Linked DNA regions of Homo sapiens: regions 2 and 3 are each linked to region 1. Evidence: promoter capture Hi-C in 16 types of primary human blood cells and fetal thymus (Javierre and others, 2016). All regions are on one chromosome and are shown on one strand. The core of a region is centred on a gene start or on the middle of the fragment in contact, and the rest is flanking DNA. Distances in the headings are between cores, read along the strand shown.

What was found. Contacts are between HindIII fragments. The CHiCAGO score rates a contact against its expected background, and 5 or more counts as called.
Region 2: a contact is called between a fragment that was not itself captured here and the fragment with the promoter of LINC01220 in region 1, in 16 of 17 cell types (total B cells, naive B cells, monocytes and 13 more). The highest score is 20.8, in total B cells.
Region 3: a contact is called between a fragment that was not itself captured here and the fragment with the promoter of LINC01220 in region 1, in 6 of 17 cell types (total B cells, naive B cells, total CD8 T cells and 3 more). The highest score is 7.9, in total B cells.

Annotation. Positions count from the first base shown.
Region 1 is chr14:75,292,706-75,295,931 of GRCh38, forward strand. LINC01220 (long intergenic non-protein coding RNA 1220) reads left to right here and starts at 1,699. Exons shown (of 3, transcript NR_038421.1): 1 at 1,699-1,836; 2 at 1,972-2,032. RefSeq lists an enhancer at 1,267-1,406 and a silencer at 1,477-1,936. The HindIII fragment of the contact is 10,176 bases long and covers 1-2,008 here.
Region 2 is chr14:75,181,913-75,185,138 of GRCh38, forward strand. No RefSeq gene overlaps it. Among named protein-coding and RNA genes, the nearest start is that of TMED10, 6.9 kb to the left of the region's middle. The HindIII fragment of the contact is 3,996 bases long and covers 1-3,226 here.
Region 3 is chr14:75,201,762-75,204,987 of GRCh38, forward strand. It overlaps the pseudogene RNU4ATAC14P. Among named protein-coding and RNA genes, the nearest start is that of TMED10, 27 kb to the left of the region's middle. The HindIII fragment of the contact is 1,467 bases long and covers 846-2,312 here.

The DNA.
Region 1 (3,226 bases), core at 449-2,948:
CTGTTCCATGTAACCATTTGGAGTTTTCGTGTTTAAAATTTAAAATTGCGAAGCAGTGTGATACAGTGTTTTGCCATGTTTTTATTTGACAAATGCACATTTTAGTTAATAACTAAATATTTTTACTAGATTTGAATATTATCTTTAAAATAGATAATTCCTTTTGCTTATTTATTTTTGAGAGAGGGTCTCCCTGTCACTCAGGCTGGAGTGCAGTGACTGCAATCAAGGCTCACTGCAGCCTTGACTGCCCTGGCCCAAGATCTTCCCACCTCAGCCTCCCAAGTAGCTGGGATCACAGGTGTGCACCACCATGCCCAGCTATTTTTTTTTATTTTTGTAGAGTCGGGGTCTCCTTATGTTGCCCAGGCTGGTCTAGAACTCCTAGGTTCAAGTGATCCTCCTGCCTTGGCCTCCCAAAGTGCTGGGATTACAGGCGTGGGCCACAGCGCCCGGCCCCCTTTTATTTTAAATCTAAAGAAGACTCGAGAAAAAAAACATTACGTCAGTAGTAGATTTAGGAGATGCACTACTAATACTACGTAAGTTTCTCTTGTGCTGCCTGGGAATAAAAATAAACACTTAACACTAACTTGGGGCTCACAACATGCTTGACACTGTTCCAAACACACACACACACACACACACACACACACACACACACACTCATTTTAAAAGTCCTCATCTACTCTTAAAGGTAGGTCCTGCTATTATCCTTATTTTTGTAGATAATAATATAGTCTGGGGCGCAGAGGTCTGCTCAAGATCATCCAACTGGAGTGGCAGCGCTGGAATTAGAGTCCAGGCAGTGTGGCTTCAATGCCTGAACTCTTAGCCATTAGAAAGGAAAAACAAAGCAAAATCAGTATCCGCAACAACCTTGCAGGCACGGAGGCCCTCAGAAGGGACAGGAGAGGCCGGGCGCGGTAATCCCAGCACTTTGGGAGGCCGAGGCGGGCGGATCACCTGAGGTCAGGAGTTGGAGACCAACCTGGCCAACGTGGTGAAATCCTGTCTCTACTAAAAATGTAAAAAATTAGCCGGGTACGGTGGCGCGCGCCTGTAGTTCCAGCTACTTGGGAGCCTGGGGCGGGAGAATCGCTTGAACCGGGAGGCAGAGGTTGCAGTGAGCAGAGATCGCGCCAGTGCACTCCAGCCTGGGCGATAGAGCGTGACTCCATCTCAAAAAAAAAAAAAAAAAAAAAAAAAAAAACAAAGGAAAAGAAAAAGAAGGGACAGGAGGGCCTCCTTCCGCTCCTGACCAGCCCCTGCTGGCCCGTGGGCAGAGGGAGAGCCGGCTTCCAGGGACCTCAGGGAGGGACGTTTGGGAGTGCTCTCTCAGCGTCCCCTCCACCGCCCTCTCTACACCCTTGCCGCGCCCCTGTCCTCGTCGGCCAGGCCAAGGTTTCTCCTGGCCCTTCCCAGCTTCCGGCCCTTTGCTCCAGGGCAGGTCGCAGGGCCAGACGGTGCCAGGAGCTCGCGAGTCCTCTGTTTACTGTTTGGTTTCCACGGTGACACGTAGGCGCCGTCAGCGACTCCCGTCACCGCCCCGCAGCGCGGCCCCCACCCGGCGCCGTGACGCCGGCCCGCCGCTTCCGCTCTGCCCATATTTGGCTCAGCCACTGCGCCGCCGGCCCGGGGTAGGCTGTGGGCGGGACTCCCGCCGCGCCCCGCCCCCGGTCCCTGCCCCGCCCCTGGAATGCTGGGCGAAGGCTCCGAGCCACGAGACCCCCGCCTCCTGTCCCGGGACCCACCCAGGCGGAGGCAAGGGCAGGGGCGCTGGGGGCCCAGAGAGAGGGCGCCGCGATGGATGAATGAGCTGTTTCCAGCATTCCTGTGCGTCTGCTGGTTGTAGCTGCAGTCAAGATTTGGGGCGGTCTCGTTTGTTGTGGGTGGGTGATCTGGGATCACGATTTTCTCACTCTGTGCCCGGAAATCATGCCATCTCTCGCCCAACGCTGTATTTTATAGGCTTCAACTCAAAATTTTCCTTCATGGCACAGTGGAAAGCTTTGAAGACGGCGGTTCTGGGGTCAGTGTTGCCCCTCGGGGGATAAGTGACCTTGGGAAGGCCATTTTCCTTTTCCTGGCATGATAAAACGAACCGTGGGGGTGGTCCATAATGGTTGCAGCACTGTCATCAGGCTTGTGAGGGGAGCTTTTCCATCACCCTCTAACCACCCCCTCCCCAGGACATAACTGGAATATCAGTGAAGTTCTTTGAGCATCGACCCCCTACAGTTCTGCCCCCTGTGGTGATTGGATTTGTGTGTCTCTGCACCTTGCTCCTATTAGGCGCTTAATGAACTTTAGTTAACTGATTATTGAATGAATAATACGAATCACCTTCATAAATCCGGACCCCTGCAATTCCTCTTCCAGGCCGGGCGAGGGGGAGGGTAGGGGATGGGGGAGAATATTGAGATGATTAATAATCGCGCGGCAGGGTTGCTGATGTAAAGCGATTTGCAGATCTAAAGGGCAATAAGCATTCCTGGGAGAAATCCAGCGAGATTCCAGAAGTCTCTGAGGGAGCCGTGGGTGTGTACCGCCGGGCCCAGAGGGCGGGGGTGGGGCAGGCAGTGCCGCAGTGGCCGCTGCTGGGGAGCCGATTGCAATTGCGAGGAGAAGCGTGGGGTTAATCCTTCAAGACGCCTGTCACCATCCTCCCACCCCCATCCCTGCCCCCTAGATTCCCCAGTTCCTCTGGCTGAAGGAGTGTGTGTTTTCCAGAGTTTCAGAGCTGGAAGTCACATCGGAGACTTTTAATCTAATTTAACCTATTTCGCCAACAGGGAAATTAAAGCTCAGAGAAGTTGGTTCGACCATCCAAACTTGCACAGCTAGTTAGAAACTGATAAAAGTCAGGATATCTAGCTTCAAATAGTGTTCCACATCGCCTAGGTGCTTCTAATTTCCTGTGCTTCAGAACCCTGTTGCCTGGCTCAGCTGGTGGGTTGTACATTTAGGCTAAATATTGACTTCAGGGCTCTTAAAGAACGCCATTGTCACGTCTGCTGCCACACGCAGCCCACACCATGACACCAGGGCCTGGGGGGGATGGCCAAGAATTGTGTACTTCCTAAAGCCTCAAGCATTCCTCCTTAGAGCAGCTGGAATGGTCACCCCTGTCCAGGGAACAGGAGTCGGCTGTTCTGAAACCAGTCTTAGTCTAGCAGTTGGTCACTTTTCATAGTTACCCAAGCCTTGCATTAAACTTTTCTCA
Region 2 (3,226 bases), core at 443-2,942, 110 kb before region 1:
TTCTAAATGTTAGAGTCCCCCAGGACCTGGTCCTGGAAACTTCTGCTGCATTCCAGGTGATGTCATACAATTCCATGACTTTATTTTTATATTTTTTATTTATTTTTATTTTTTTGAGACAGAGTTTCACTCTTGTTGCCCAGGCTGGAGTGCAATGGTGCAATCTCAGCTCACTGCAACCTCCGCCTCCAGGGTTCAAGTGATTTTCCTGTCTTAGCCTCCCGAGTAGCTGGGATTACAGGCATGCACCACCACATCTGGCTAATTGTGTATTTCTAGTGGAGACAGGGTTACTCCATGTTGGTCAGGCTGGTCTCGAATTCCTGACCTCAGGTGATCTGCCCACCTCGGCCTCCCAAAGTGCAGGGATCACAGGTGTGAGCCACCGCGCCCAGCCTTAGATTTTTTATTTTTTCTGAGATGGAATCGTGCTCTGTCCTCCAGGCTGTAGTGCAGTGGCGCAATCTCGGCTCGTTGCAACCTTTGCCTCTCAGATTCAAGCAATTCTCCTGTCTCAGCCTCCCGAGTAACTGGGACTTGGGACTGCAGGAGCACGACACCAAGCCCAGCTAATTTTTGTATTTTTAGTAGAGATGGTGTTTCACCATATTGGTCAGGCTGGTCTCGAACTCCTGACCTCAGGTGATCCACCCTTCTTGGCCTCCTAAAGTGCTAGGATTACAGGCATGAGCCACCATCCCCAGCCCAATCCCATGACTTTAAATGTGTCTGTAGACTGATAATTCCCAAACATGGATCTCCTGACCTCTCTCATAAGCTCCAGAGTCTATATCGAGCTCCCTACTTGACATCTCCACTTGAAGGACTAATAGGCAATTCATACTTAACTCTTGATTTCCCTTCTCCCCTCTTCCCCCACCCCGCTCCCAAATCTACTTCTTCCGCATCTCAGTAAATGGCACCACCTTCTGCCTAGTCAATGACACCATTCTTGTTTCCTCTTTAACTAACCTTCTCCCCAGACAGAGTCAGTTCATCAAGTCCCGTCAGTTCTGGATTGGGTCCTAAAATGTATGCTGGTCAGTTTCTACTTCTCTATAAGCTAGGGGTCCATAAACTGCTGCCTAGCTAGGCAGGCCAAATCTGGCATGCAACCTCCTGTTTTTCTATTGTGCAAGAGCTAAGAATGGCTTTTACATTTTTTGAGGGCTGTTAAAAAAAAAAAAGGAGGAGGAGAAAGAAGAGAAGAATGTGCAATAGAGAGCTCAAGTGACCTGCAAGCCTGAAATATTTGCTATCTGACCTTTTACAGAAAAATTTATTTCTGTCAGTTAAGCAAACAAGACAACAGCCTCCTTAATGGTTATCTCTGCTTTTATTATTGCCTGACAATAATCGTACTCATTAACATACCCAGAATGATTTTTTTTTCTTTTTTTCTCTGATTTTTTTTTTTTTTTAAGTAAAGCAGATCAACTAGATTAAAATCCAAACACCCAGCCACAGCCTGAAGGCTGAGGCCACTGTGTTCTGGCTCATGCCTGCCTCTCTGTGATTATCCTACCCATTAATGTCTTACCTGGCCTTCCAAACAGTTTAAGCCCCTACCTGCATCAGAGCCTTGGACCTTGCTGCCTACCTGGAGCTCTCCTCAGCTGTTGTCTCATATACTCTGCTGACTGCTTCTCATCATTTGGGTCCCAACTGAATGTCACCACCCCACATAAGTATCCCCCCCCTTGGGTTACTTTCTACCACATTATCTGGTTTTATTATCTTTATTTTTCTCTCTTTTTTTTTCTTTTTTTTGAGATGGAGGTCTCCCTCTGTTGCCCAAGCTAGAGTGCAGTGGCATGATCTCGGCTCTCTGCAACCTCCGCCTCCTGGGTTCAAACGATTCTCATGCCACAGCCTCCCAAGTAGCTGGGACTACAGGCACTTGCCACTGTGCCTGGATAATTTTTGTATTTTTAGTAGAGATGGGGTTTCACCATGTTGGTCAAGCTGGTCTTGAACTCCTGACCTCAAGTGATCTGCCTGCCTTGGCCTCCCAAAGTGCAGGAATTACAGGTGTGAGCCACCGCGCCCGGCTCTTTTTTTTTTTTTTTTTTTTTTAGGGACAGGGTCTTGCTCTGTAACCCAGGCTGGAGTGCAGCGGCGCCATCATAGCTCAGTGCTGCCTCCATCTCCCTGGCTCAAGCGATTCTCCCACCTCAGCCTCCCCAGTGCTGGGGACTACAGGCACACGCCACCACACCTGGCTAATTTTTTTTTTTTAGTAGAGATGAGGTCTCACTCTGTTTCCCAGGCTTGTCTCAGACTCCTGAGCTCCAGCAATCCTCCAGCCTCTGCCTCCCAAGGTGCTGGGATTATGGGTGTGAGCTACTGCACCCGGCCCTGGTTTTATTATCTACATGGCTCTTGTCACTGTTTGAAAGTATCTTATATATATATCTTTCTTGTTTATTATCACCCCACCCTACTGGAATTTAAGCTCAGAAGAGCAAGGGCTTTGATTTTTGCCTGATCTTTCCCTGAGATCAGGCACAATATCCTGTCCATAGTTGGTGCTCAACAAATACTTATCGAATAAATGAAATACAACATATTATAAAGCTCCTAGCACGAGATGAACATAGAGCAGTTGCTCCATAAATGCTAGTTCCTCTATGTAGTAGGTACAACATTTTAATTGCCATTTTTTATATGGAGAAGCTGAGGTCTGAAACTGCTTAGTGACTTGCCTCAAGTCATACAATGAGTCAGTGTTAGAGCTGAAAATAGAAATGAGAGCTCCTAACTGCAGACCAATTTTTGTCATTACATTTGATAAAACTTGGTATTTACGATTTAGTTTCCACTCTACTAAGAAGTTTTAAATTCTTGGGCACTCTTTCTCTACTTTCACTCAGAGGCTAGTAAAAGATCCACTAGCCTCTCCCAACTCATTTTGCTTGAAAAAACAAGATTTTTATCAGTCGGGTGTGGTAGTTCATGCCTATAATCCCAGCACTTTGGGAGGCTGAGGCATGTGGATCACGTGAGATCAGGAGTTCGAGACCAGCCTGGCCAACATGGTGAAACCTCTCTCTACTAAAAATACAAAAAATTAGGCATGGTGGCGGGAGCCTGTAATCTCAGGTACTTGGGAGGCCGAGGCAGGAGAATCGCTTGAACCCGGGAGGTGGAGGCTGCAGTGAGCCGAGACTGCGCCATTGCACTTCAGCCTGGGCAACAAGAGTGAAACCTGAAAGTCCCTCTCAAA
Region 3 (3,226 bases), core at 329-2,828, 91 kb before region 1:
CCAGGTTTAAGTGATTGTCTCACCTCAGCCTCCCAAGTAACTGGAATTACAGGCATGCACCACCACATCTGGCTAGTTTATATATTTTTAGTAGAGATGGGGTTTCACCATGTTGGCCAGGCTGGCCTCAAACTCCTGACCTCAGGAGTTCCATCCACCTCGGCCTCCCAAAGTGCTGGGATTACAGGTGTGATCCACCGTGCCTGGCCTAGAATATACTCTTTAGAATACTCTTTTTAAAATACCTCCAGAACTTAGTTTATATCCAGGTTGTCTGTAATCCTAGTCTCTGGAAAGTACTTCTGTTTTTTATGTTTATTTTTGCTTTTTTTTTTTTGGTATGTGTTAGCAGTACTGCCCTCACTATGCGCTCGTTGGACAGTAGCACAAACCCAAGAAAAGAATGATGATTTGGCAGTCATTTCTAAATAGCAGAACACCTTTTCTTATTTTAGAATATGTAGGGCCAGGCATGGGGCCTCACACCTATAATCCCAGCACTTTGGGAGGCTGAAGTGGGAGGATTGCTTGAGCCCAGGAGTTCAAGACCAGCCTGGGCAAGATGGCAAGACTACGCATCTCTACAATAAATAAATAAATACATAAATAAAATATCAGAGCTAGTTCTCAATTAAATCTGATCAAAACATAGCATGCCATCTAGCACAGGACCTCAAGGCCTTATAGACATGAGTTATATATCCTCCTTGCTTATAAAATGCAGACTGTCTAATTGCTGGCTCACAGAAGATCACATAGGGGCTTAAAGCTTAGTTAGGGCAGAGCCGTCATGTGAGACATAAACAGAATGGGGAGAATCTGTAATATAGGGTGAGAACTTTGTAAGCTTCATGCTATGGACAATGGAGAAGTATATCAGGGCTCTGCAGTTTCAGGAGATAAGAACGAATTCTGAGTTAACAGGAAAAAAAAAGCCATCTGAAGGAAGGATATTGGGGAGTTTATAGAATTGAAGGAAAATCTGACCAGGCAAGAGGGGATCTCCTGGGGATTAACTCATGATTCAACTTCAAACTTCCCATCCCTGAATCTCTGTTCAAAATTCAAATGCCCAGGTGAGTCTGAATGGCTTAGCTTAGGTCATGTGCCCCCTTCATGGGACCTGGGATTGGCTGACCTCCAGAATTCTGCACAACAGAGAAAAGGAGACAAATTCCAAAGGAACAGATGCTGGCCAGACAGACGAGACATGTCTGCTCTAGTAGCCACTGGACATTGCTTTCTCTTTTTCCTTTGTTTTTCTTTTTTTTCTTTTTTAAATGGAGTTTTTTTTTTTTTTTTTGAGACGGAGTCTCGCTCTGTCACCCAGGCTGGAGTGCAGTGGCGTGATCTCGGCTCACTGCAAGCTCCACCTCCCAGGTTCACACCATTCTCCTGCCTCAGCCTCCCAAGTAGCTGGGACTACAGGTGCCCGCCACCACGCCCGGCTAATTTTTTCATATTTTTAGTAGAGACGGGGTTTCACCATGTTAGCCAGGATGATCTCGATCTCCTGATCTCGTGATCCGCCCGCCTTGGCCTCCCAAAGTGCTGGGATTACAGGTGTGAGCCACCGCGCCCGGCCAAAAAAAAAAAAGAAAAAAAAAGAGAGGGCCAGCCGTGGTGGCTCATGCCTGTAATCCCAGCATTTTGGGAGGCTGAGGGGGGCAGATCACTTGAGGTCAAGAGTTCGAAACCAGCTGGGCCAACATGGTGAAACCCCGTCTCTACTAAAAATACAAAAATTAGCTGGGCCTGGTAGCACGTGCCTGCAGTCCTAGCTACTTGGGAAGCTGAGACAGGAGAATCACTTGAACCTGGGAGGTGGAAGTCACAGTGAGCTGAGACCACGTCATTGCACTCCAGTCTGGGTGACAAGAGCAAAACTCCGTCTAAAAAAAAAAAAGAAAGAAAGAGAGAGAGAGAGACAGAGACAGAGAGAGGCAGGAGATGTGTTAGAAAGCTATTAGATGTCAACCATTGTGGAAGGAATGAACCAGGCTGGGCTGGCGGAGAATGGAACGAAGTAACCAGATATGAGGCACAAGGGCTCAAAAAGTAGTTTGTAAACTCGATTGAGCCATCTGGGGCAGTTGGGACCCCAGGAGTTCATCTCCAGCCTACACCAGAATCCTCTCTGGGAAGTGACTGGGAATCTACAATTTTAAAACACACAGCCATCCTCCATAGAAGACACTGGTCTGTGTAGATGGGCATTTGGAAACCATTGATCTATTAGACCGTTTTTTCTAAATGTCCTCTAGTCCAGTGTCTCATCTTATCTCTTTGCTCTTGCAGTTAAGCATTATCAAAGCTTAGCTTTTGAGTACTTGCAATTTGTACTCATTACATTTAGAGTCATATATCTGCAAGATCTCTTCTGAGGTCTTTGGAATGAAAACAAGGACAGAGAGGTATGTTGGCTCCTAACCGTCGCCTTATTTTGTTAGTGTGTCTGGGGCTTGTGGCTTTTGACAGGGACTCGAGAGATGACTTTGTCAGCTTTTCCTTTCACTATAGTAAGTCTCCATAACAAACACACCCAAGTCTGGTATTTCTGAACTTATGGCTCTGTACTGAATACATGCTGTTCCTGGAGCCAGGCTCATTTTGCAGTTTCTCCTCCCAACTCCACCCTTTGGTCCTGCTGATGGGCTCATTCAGCCTTGGCATGTGATAAACCTCAGGTTCTGGGAGTTTTCTCTAGGACACTGAAGAACAGTATTGACTTTTCAGTAATTGCTGGAGTTTAAAAGGAATGGTGATCTTTGGGAGTGGGAGTGTGGTACAGGTGGGCGAATAGGACTTACGGTGCCAACTGGCTTCTCCCCATTCCTATAGTGAGGGGACTCATAAGAATGAATAACTAGGAAAGGGTTTGCCAAACTTCAGTTGTTTGAATACCATCCTCATGATTTTTGCCAAATCTTCATGTTATCCATCTGCTATTTATTTTATACTTTTCATTAATTAACATATTTTCGCTGGCATAGTCACTACCTATGCTAGCCTTGCTGTAAACAATCATATTCTTGAAGTTGCTGATTCATGAAATCGGGTCTGGTATGCTACCTATAAATTTTTTTCTAGTACACATTAAAATAAATATACACTTATTGAAATTGTGTAAATGTTCACTCATGTGCTAAAATCCTCCTGTGTGCCACTAGAGGTATACGTATCACAGTTGGGGAGCATTAGCTTAGGAATGTCCATGAGCTAAGAG